3 separate regions of the Homo sapiens genome follow, and all the other regions are linked to region 2. Evidence: promoter capture Hi-C in 16 types of primary human blood cells and fetal thymus (Javierre and others, 2016). All regions are on one chromosome and are shown on one strand. Each heading gives the region's core, a stretch centred on a gene start or on the middle of the fragment in contact. The rest is flanking DNA. Distances are from core to core; before and after follow the strand shown. Region 1 overlaps MDN1 (midasin AAA ATPase 1). Region 2 holds the start of ANKRD6 (ankyrin repeat domain 6). Region 3 overlaps ANKRD6 (ankyrin repeat domain 6).

Region 1 (2,783 bases), core at 186-2,685, 240 kb after region 2:
GATGAATATTTGGATTGTTTCACAATTTTCACCATATAAATAATGCTGTAGTAAATATCCATGTGTAGACATATATACACACTCATATACCTATTTATCTTTGACACTAGCATTTCTATAAGAAAACATGGAATTTGGGGGTCAATGAATACACATAATTTAAAATTCAGCAGACACTACCAAATTGTTCTGGAAGCTTTTTATTCCATGTAATGTTTTTTGTGTGAACTTTTCTATTAGATTTGCTTTTGCTTTTGACTTTTTTTTTCTACTAGAAAAGTAGTATACACTGATTTAGATTTGAGAAATACAGAAGGCCAAAATAACAAAGCAATTATCTAAGGACAATATAGGTCCAAAAAAAAAAAATTAGAGCTCCATAACATAAATACTAGCATTATTCTTTTGGCTTTTAATTGCTTTCCAGTTTTCTCTGCCAAGGAAGGGAGGGAATTTGAATTGGTTTTCTCCTTTATTTTTAATAACTATAAAATTACCTTAAATACAAGTTTCTGATCTGATTTAACTTAGAATATAAGTGATACACCCAATACACATAAATCACTCACAAATGAGACAGGCATTTAAAAAATCCAAGCAATGTAACAATCTTAGTTCACAGCATCTGAATAGTTCAGAAGGTTGCTTGATTCCAACCAAAAAAGGATACAGATTTTTTAAAACACTCTATGCCTTAAAGATATACAACAGTAAAACCTATTAACAGCAAATTTTGGCATTATTGTTTAATGCAATTATCACTTAAGATAGCCAGGCCTTTTATGCTTAAAAATACTATCAAAAATACTCTAGAAAATCATCAGTAAATATCTGCCCATTTAAAAAAAAAAAGTAAAAATCATTTCCTCCATAATTATAGCCAAAACCAATGATGGAGTTGCCAGGTTCCTTCCTGTGGATTTTAGGCTTTTTATTTACACCCACTGCCGAAGCACCAATATATCTAGGGCTCTGTAGATCACAGATTAAAAATTATTAACCTAGTAAAAACCATTTTTATGTGTAACTTACATGTTGAAAAGAAAGAGAGTGATCTTCTGTCAACTGTATACCTATGTGAAAACGTACCTGTTCTTCATTTCCGATCTGGTCACTCACATCCTTCATGCCCTCGCCTTCTCCAATTCCACCTCCCTCATAGTCATGGAACTCAGTTGCTCCCTCTCCAGCTGAATCTTCCATAAATTCTTTGGGCAAGCAAAATCCCTTAGAAAAAAGAAAAAGGAAGTGAACAATTAGGCACAAAAGCAATTTTAAAAGGAGATTTCATTCTTGCCACAGGAAAACAATTTAAACACATACTGAATTCTTTTTCTAGCTCATTATCTTAAATCCGCTGGAAGTACAGGAGACTTCTGACATTCTTCTCCTCTTTGGTGCTAATAGTTATGCAGTTTCACAGCTTGACATCAGATTTAACATATGACTTGACTTTGTAGAAGCCTCTGGCATGTGGTCATTTGTCACTTTGCCAAGACAAAAACCTAAATGAAGTATACTAGAAGGACAGTATTTTGGAAAAAGTCCTTGAGTAAGGGCAGAACAGGCTCTGGAGAGAACACAGTCAGACATAGTAATAACTGTGAAATGTTGAAAAAAACTATTTTATACAGGAAAATAACCTGAGAAGAATACTAGCCTGCTGAGCAGAAGTAAAAAGAAAAAGTAGTAGTGACTCTCAATCAGAAAGTTTAATTTTGTAAGAGAAAATATATACTATGAAGATATATCTGAGGATGGGAATGCACAAAAAAATAAGCTGCTAATTAGCAAGGAATTAAGATCCCAAACCAGTAAACACTAATTATGACTTGGTTACACAGAAACAGCTTCCTGCGGATCAAGAGCTTTAATTACAGCCTAGATCTATTATCTTAGCACTGTCTAACCTACTCTCAAGTTCCCTTGAACTACTCAGAAAAGATATGAATACAATTTGGACACTTAGAAAAATTTTTAACAAGCCAAACCCACTTTTAGGACATATATTCTCAGAATGTTGATAGGAAAATACAGTTTGGCTTACTTGCTTAATTTTCCCATTGAACTACATTATTTAAATGAGAGACATTCAGAAATAGACAAAGAATACGACCACATAGGAGGGAGTTTCAGATGCCCTTACCAGAGTATATCATTGCAGCTGCTACGTCTGGGATAGCCACAGGGCTCCCAACATTCTGCACATATCAGAACCATTCCTACCCGCAACAGACAAAGGTTTGAAAGGCCAAAGTCATTCTACAGCCTGTCAGACAAAAGCTACGGTACAAATGGACAAATCCAGCTGAGCCAAATCTCAAGGCACCCGAACCACACATTTTCCTGCCACTATCTTTAGTATACAGTGTTTTCTCCAAGAAGCAATGGAATGTTAAGGCTGGCCTGGTGCCCACCAGAGGCGGAGAAACCTGAGACTCATTCTTTTACTTATTATTACTTTTTATTATTATTATTATTACTGTTACTTATCATTACTACAGATAAACATATTTATCCTCTTGATACAAGGCATTAGGCTTGGCTTCCACTTTTTACCTCTTTCCAGTATTTCAGAGACTCGGAACTAAGAACTCTTAATTGTTTATAAGAAATCTAGACCCCATCTTCAGTTTGTAAATTCATATCTTCCTCAAGTACATCTCATCTGTATTAAGCTTGGAGAAAATCTTAGAATGCTAAGAACAAAAACAAAACTTATATACTCAAATGCAGGTGGTTCTCACAAAAATGCATATTAGTATAGGCAGATCTCATTTTAC
Region 2 (3,026 bases), core at 240-2,739:
ACTATTCAGGAGGCAGAGGCAGGAGGATTGCTTGAGCCCAGGAGTTCAAGACTGCAGTGGGCTACTGCACTTCAGCCTGGGTGACACAGCAAGGCCCCATCTTAAGGGGGAAAAAAAAGTCTGGAAAAGGCCAAAGGATACTCAGAAGAGAGATTTCACATCCTGTTAGGTAAAACTGCAGCTGTGACTATGGGGTTGGGAAAATTTCAGAAGCAGTAGGAGAAAATCAAGAACTTCCCCTTCCTAGTGTGGAAACAGGCTCTTGGGATCTCTCCTGCCTAATGATCCCTGAAGGAGAGAGGGAAACAAACATCTTAAGGAAAAGGAAGAAATCATCATGTTTCTTTTCTCCTGGAAACCAGGCCTGTTTCAGAGGGAATAAGAAAAGTCGGCTGGGTGCAGTGGCTCATGCCTGTAATCCCAGCACTTTGGGAGGCCGAGGCTGGAGGATCACGAGGTCAGGAGTTCGAGACCAGCCTGACCAATATGGTGAAACCCCATCTCTACTAAAAATACAAAAATTAGCCAGGGATGGTGGCGGGCACCTGTAATCCCAGCTACTCAGGAGGCTGAGGCAGGAGAATCACTTGAACCTGGGAGGCGGAGGTTGCAGTGAGCCTAGATGGTGCCATTGCACTCCAGCCTGGGTGACAGAGTGAGACTTCGTCTCAAAAAAAAATTTTAAGCAAGAAAGAAAAAAAAATCAGATTCGTGATAAGCTTGTCCCAAAACCTCAGGTAAGATTGATAGTCCATTTTAGGGTGCTGCTTGCCTCCTCTTCCATCTCTCCGCCTTTGGAGAGCAGATACCTGTCCATGCTTCTTCAAAGGGTGGAATGAGATCCCATCCATCTTACATGTATTCAACAGTAGCTTATTGAATGCTTCCTGTGTTCAGGGAGCTCTTCTAGGTATTGAAGAAGTGGCTGTGAATGAAAATAGACAAAACCAGACTGAGATAATGGTATGTAAAGTGTGATATGAATATGGGGGTCAGGCTCGCTCAATGCTTTTGCCATTTCCATATGGGATGATTCCAACAAGATACTTATAGTCAAGCTGTTAGAAATAAAGGCTTCCTTTCCCCTCTCCAGCTACCCCAATAAATCTGGGTCATTCATCATTGTTGTTCAGTTTGTACTGAGCAGCCCCAGTTAAGTGAGCTATGGTTATATTGAAATATCCACTTGGCCACGAATTGAGTGAAGGTGGGAGGTTCCTCCTGCTAATTCTCCTCCCCTCCCAATACACTTCCTGGCAACCCCCACGCGGAAAACCTCACCCTACTATAGGCCCCCTTCCTCCCACTCTTCAGAAGGCGGTGGCCCCACCCAGGAGAGGGCTGCAGATCGGGGCCAGCCCCAGGGCCTCCGCGGTGCCACCTCTCTCTCGCGAGGGTCCCTGCCGTGCCCCGGCTCGCCGCTGGGAGGCGCTGCGGCACCGGCGTAGGAGCCGCCGGCAGGGGTGGGGCGGGGCCGGCGGGACGGGGCAGAGGGCCCTGCGGCGGCGGACGCGGCGGGCTCGGCCACAGGTAACCCGCAGGAGCCGAGAGCGCTGCCTGGCGCGCGGGCGGCTGGAGGCACGGCGCTGGGCGGCGCCGAGGCCCTGGGGCCGCCGGAGCCAGCGGGAGCCAGTCCCCGTCTTCGCCCCTCGCCCCCCACCGTGTCGCCGGCCTTGGTCCCTGCGGCGCGGACGTCCGGCGCGGGAGAGAAAGGTACCAGGCGACCTCGCCGGCTCCCTGGGACCCCCGCTTACACCGGGGTGGGCGCCTCAGGTCGGGGAGGACGCTGTCGGGGGAAGGGGGCGCTGCTCCCTCGGCACCCCAGGATCGCCGACTGCCCGCGGAGGAGACCCGGACACCGCGCCTCGCCCCCTGGCCTGCGGCCTCCGAAAACGCCCGGCGCGAGGGGGTCCCCCCGGGGCGCCTCCCTCTTCGCCTGGCATCAGTTGCCTCCCTGGAATATGGAACTTCGGGCGAGGGAGGTGGAGAACTTTCTTCTGGGGCTCGTCCCTCGTTCTCCTGCTCGCTTGCAGTTTGAAGGAAGGGCGGTGGGGGCGGGGGTCCGAGTACCCCGCGGTCTGCGGCGCGTAGGAGGGTAGGTCCCTGGCCTGCGGCCGCCTCCGAATGACCCCGTCCCTCCCCGCCCTGGACGACAGCACTAGGGTGCAGTCGCAGGAGAGGGGCCGATACCCCTCAGGAGCCCCATCGGCGAAGCCTCAGCAAGTGGCATCTCCCGGGGTCCAGAGAGTCGGCGTGCTGTCTGGTTTGGGTCCAGACATCAGCTCACCCAAGCTTATCTTGGGCTTTTAAGTGTGTTGCTTCCGGTAGATCTCGGGGACTGGAGGGGAAGTGCAGCATTATTTGTGACCCAAGAGGGACTTGAATGTCTCAAAGCTGGTCAAGAATGTTTCCCCCGCGAGGTAGCATGAGATGGGTCACGTGGTAGTAAAGAGCCACTTCGGGCCCGTGAGATGGAGTTCTGACTCCACCACTTGTTAGGTGTGTGACTTTGGAAAACCCACTTCTTTAAACCTTAGTTTTTAGAACTCTAAACTGCAGGTATTGTACATAACCTCGTAGTATTGTGTTCATGCAGTGAAGTGATGGGAATGAAATGCTTGGCATTGTACTCTTGTGTGTTAGACACCTTTTGCGAACCTGTTGGATGTTGAATTCATTCATGCTTAGGTTCTGTTAGGCCAGTGTAAGTGGAAAGAACTTGGGCAATGAAGACAAACACACCTGGGTCCAAGGTGGTCCCATCCATGGTATACTGATTGGGGGTTTCTCATCCCCAAAACACCAATAGCAGCCTTGGCGGGGTTTTTGTTGTTGTTGTTTTGAGACAGAGTTTCGCTCTGTTGCCCAGGCTGTAAGCTTTGACCTCCTTAGCTCAACCGATCTTCCCACCTCAGCCTGGGACCACCACACCTGGCTAATTTTGAATTTTTTTATTTTACTAGAGACAGAGTCTCACTGTGTTGCCTAAGCTGGTCTCGAACTCCTCCTGTCTCAGCCTCCCAAAG
Region 3 (2,700 bases), core at 47-2,546, 190 kb after region 2:
ATACAAAATTAGAATAATTATGTATTTTTTTCTTTTCCCAACTTTTTATTTTAAAAGTTTTCAAACATACAGAAAAGTTCACAGAATAATGGAGTGAATGCTTGTATATAATCCCTGTAGTCAGCCAGTTAATATGTTGCTGCATTTGCCTTGTCTCTCTGACACACATGTTTTTTTAACTCTTGAACTATTTCAGATTTAGTTGCAGACTGTCCTGACAGGGCATCTCTAAATATTTCAGAATGTTTAGAATAAGAATAACACTTTCAACTTCATAACAATATTGCTTTCACACCTGAGAAAACGTTATCCAGCCCATATTCAGATTTTCTCGGTTTTCGTAAAATAGTATTTGTTACAACTTTTTTTTTTTTTTTTTTTTAGATGGGGTCTGACTCTGTCACCTAGAGTGCAGTGTGGCAATCTCAGCTCACTACAGCCTCTGCCTCCTGGGTTCAAGCGATTCTCCCACCTCAGTCTGCTGAGTAGCTGGGACTAAGGCGGACGCCACCATGCCCACCTAATTTTTGTATTTTTTTGGTAGAGACGGGGTTTCACCACGTTGGCTAGGCTGGTGTCAAACTCCTGGGCTCAAGCGCCTCGCCTGCCTTGGCCTCCCAAGGTGCTGGGATTTTAGGTGTGATCCACCATGCCCTGCCCTTTTTTTAAAAAAGTTTTTGCCAAATTGATTAAGGACATTTTACTGTTTAAGTTTTATTTCCTTGTTTACTGGTAAGATGAAACATTTTTAAGGCTTATTTGCTATCTGTATTTTATAGAAAGGCCATTTTAAAAATATTTTCTTAGGTCAATAATAGATTAGTGAAGACTGTTTTGTATATAAAAACCCCACTTCGCCTAGCCTAAGCTGAAAGAGGAATGAGAGATGAATGTTGGGATACCTCAAGGGCCTCACTTCAGTTCAAGGGAGTGACAGATTGGGGTGTAGAATCTTAGTCCTCCTTCCAAATCACCAAGAAAGGACCGTGGCACCCTTGAGTCAGATGCTCATACCCGAGCCAGTTAGTGTGACCTGTGAACAAAGCAATGTATACCTATGGCTGCTCTTGAAAACAGCCACCTGGAGGAAGAGGTTAAGGGAGTGGGGAGAGTAGGCCAATCCTAGAAAACAGGAGGAGCACAGGTCACAGGAAAACATGGACTGAAGAGAAAAACAGAAGGTGCTCACCACGTCTCCAGAACGGATGTTTCTTTTTTCTTAATGTTTTGAACATCTGGGTGTGGAATGCCACGTGTGTCCCTGACAGGAGGGGAGCTCACCAGTGAGCCTTCGCGGATTGGCTCTTCCTAACAATAGTTCCTTTCATTCTTTGGTCCTTGTCAAAGCAGTGAAAGTTTGGCCCTCCTAGGTGTAGGGGTCCCACAGGAAATGCCAAGATGAAGGGTACTCCAGAAGGGCATGTGATTAAAAAGTGACAACTGCTTGTTCTCTGAAGCAATCCTTTAAGTTCCTTCTACACTCTTCTTACGTACTTTAGCTACTTCCAATGAAGCACCAAAAATATTTGCTCACTGCAAGAGCCGGATAAAAGCTCATTTTACTGCCTTGTAGGCAACCACTAACATTTTTTAAAGTGGGGTTGGGGAAGAGAAAAATCTCCATACTTTGAGATGTAGTTTTTTCTTACAGTAGTCTGGGAAATAATGTTTTAAGGCCTACAAGGCCTGCATGGGCTCAGGTTGTGTATTTACTGGATATTCAGAGTCTCTCTCTCTTTTTTTTTTTTTTGGCTCACTGCAACCTCTGCCTTCCAGGTTCAAATGATTCTCCTGCCTCAGCCTCCCAAGTAGCTGGGACTACAGGCATGTGCCACCACACCCGGCTAATTTTTGTATTTTTAGTAGAGATGGGGTTTCGCCATGTTGGCCAGGCTGGTTTCAAACTCCTGACCTCAGGTGGTGGGAGTATGGCGCACCACGCCTGGCCTGTATATTCATAGTCCTTATACCTCTTAAACTTTAACAAATAAGATTTTTTAAAAAACGAAACGTTGGCCTCATAGAAACATGCTCAAGAATTCTGAAAGAGTTCCATGAGTCCTACATGCAAATGGAATCAGATAAGGGGTTGAAGTTTGCATGCAGGGGCTCCTACTTGGTTCCCCAAGCCCCTCTGCAGGAGCTGAGAAGCCAGGGCTCACCCTGAGATCATCTCAGTCTTACACTCTGCTCCACTTCACTCCTAGATGCGTGTTTTGGACAAGCTGATGGTTGAGCGACTTTCTGCAGAGAGGACGGAGTGCCTGAACCGCCTGCAACAGCACTCAGACACAGAGAAGCATGAGGGGGAGAAACGACAGGTAGGAACCAGCATCTGCTAGTCCTTAACTTATGATTTACCACACAGGCCCACTGAGCTCAGGCAGGCCTGCCACTGAAAACTCAGAGGCTGAGACTCCCTAAGAGCTTTTACATTATATAGTGTATCATTTTTATGATACTGAAATGAGGTTAATAGAAAAGAACCTGTAGTTCTGTTTATGTCCGTGGCTGAATATGCTGGCAACAGATGAAGACCGAACATGCTGGGGAAGATGCCATTTCTGTCCTGAACTCATTCCATGTATTGTGCATTGTTAGGCCATTACAGTTTTAGAACAAGACATAGTTTCTACCCTCAGGGAGTTTACTGTCTCACCAAGATAAGAGACATGGAATGAGTACAGTGAGTGTGTGAGA

What was found. The method cuts DNA at HindIII sites, captures the fragments that hold promoters and counts their contacts. A CHiCAGO score of 5 or more calls a contact.
Region 1: a fragment that was not itself captured here is called in contact with the fragment with the promoter of ANKRD6 in region 2 in 1 of 17 cell types (M2 macrophages); the score reaches 5.9 in M2 macrophages.
Region 3: a contact is called between a fragment that was not itself captured here and the fragment with the promoter of ANKRD6 in region 2, in 5 of 17 cell types (M2 macrophages, M1 macrophages, erythroblasts and 2 more). The highest score is 8.3, in M2 macrophages.

Annotation. Positions count from the first base shown.
Region 1 is chr6:89,666,925-89,669,707 of GRCh38, forward strand. It overlaps MDN1 (midasin AAA ATPase 1), which reads right to left. Exons shown (of 102, transcript NM_014611.3): 84 at 1,090-1,227. The region is part of intron 1 of MDN1-AS1 (MDN1 antisense RNA 1); the gene reads left to right. Among named protein-coding and RNA genes, the nearest start is that of LYRM2, 30 kb to the left of the region's middle. RefSeq lists a silencer at 1,286-1,580. The HindIII fragment of the contact is 2,482 bases long and covers 195-2,676 here.
Region 2 is chr6:89,431,663-89,434,688 of GRCh38, forward strand. It overlaps ANKRD6 (ankyrin repeat domain 6), which reads left to right and starts at 1,490. Exons shown (of 16, transcript NM_001242809.2): 1 at 1,490-1,713. It overlaps LOC124901360 (a long non-coding RNA gene), which reads right to left. Exons shown (of 2, transcript XR_007059675.1): 1 at 1,755-3,026; 2 at 1-925. RefSeq lists a silencer at 1,282-1,761. The HindIII fragment of the contact is 1,573 bases long and covers 718-2,290 here.
Region 3 is chr6:89,625,376-89,628,075 of GRCh38, forward strand. ANKRD6 (ankyrin repeat domain 6) reads left to right here. Exons shown (of 16, transcript NM_001242809.2): 14 at 2,208-2,321. Among named protein-coding and RNA genes, the nearest start is that of MDN1-AS1, 12 kb to the right of the region's middle. The HindIII fragment of the contact is 5,002 bases long and covers 1-2,700 here.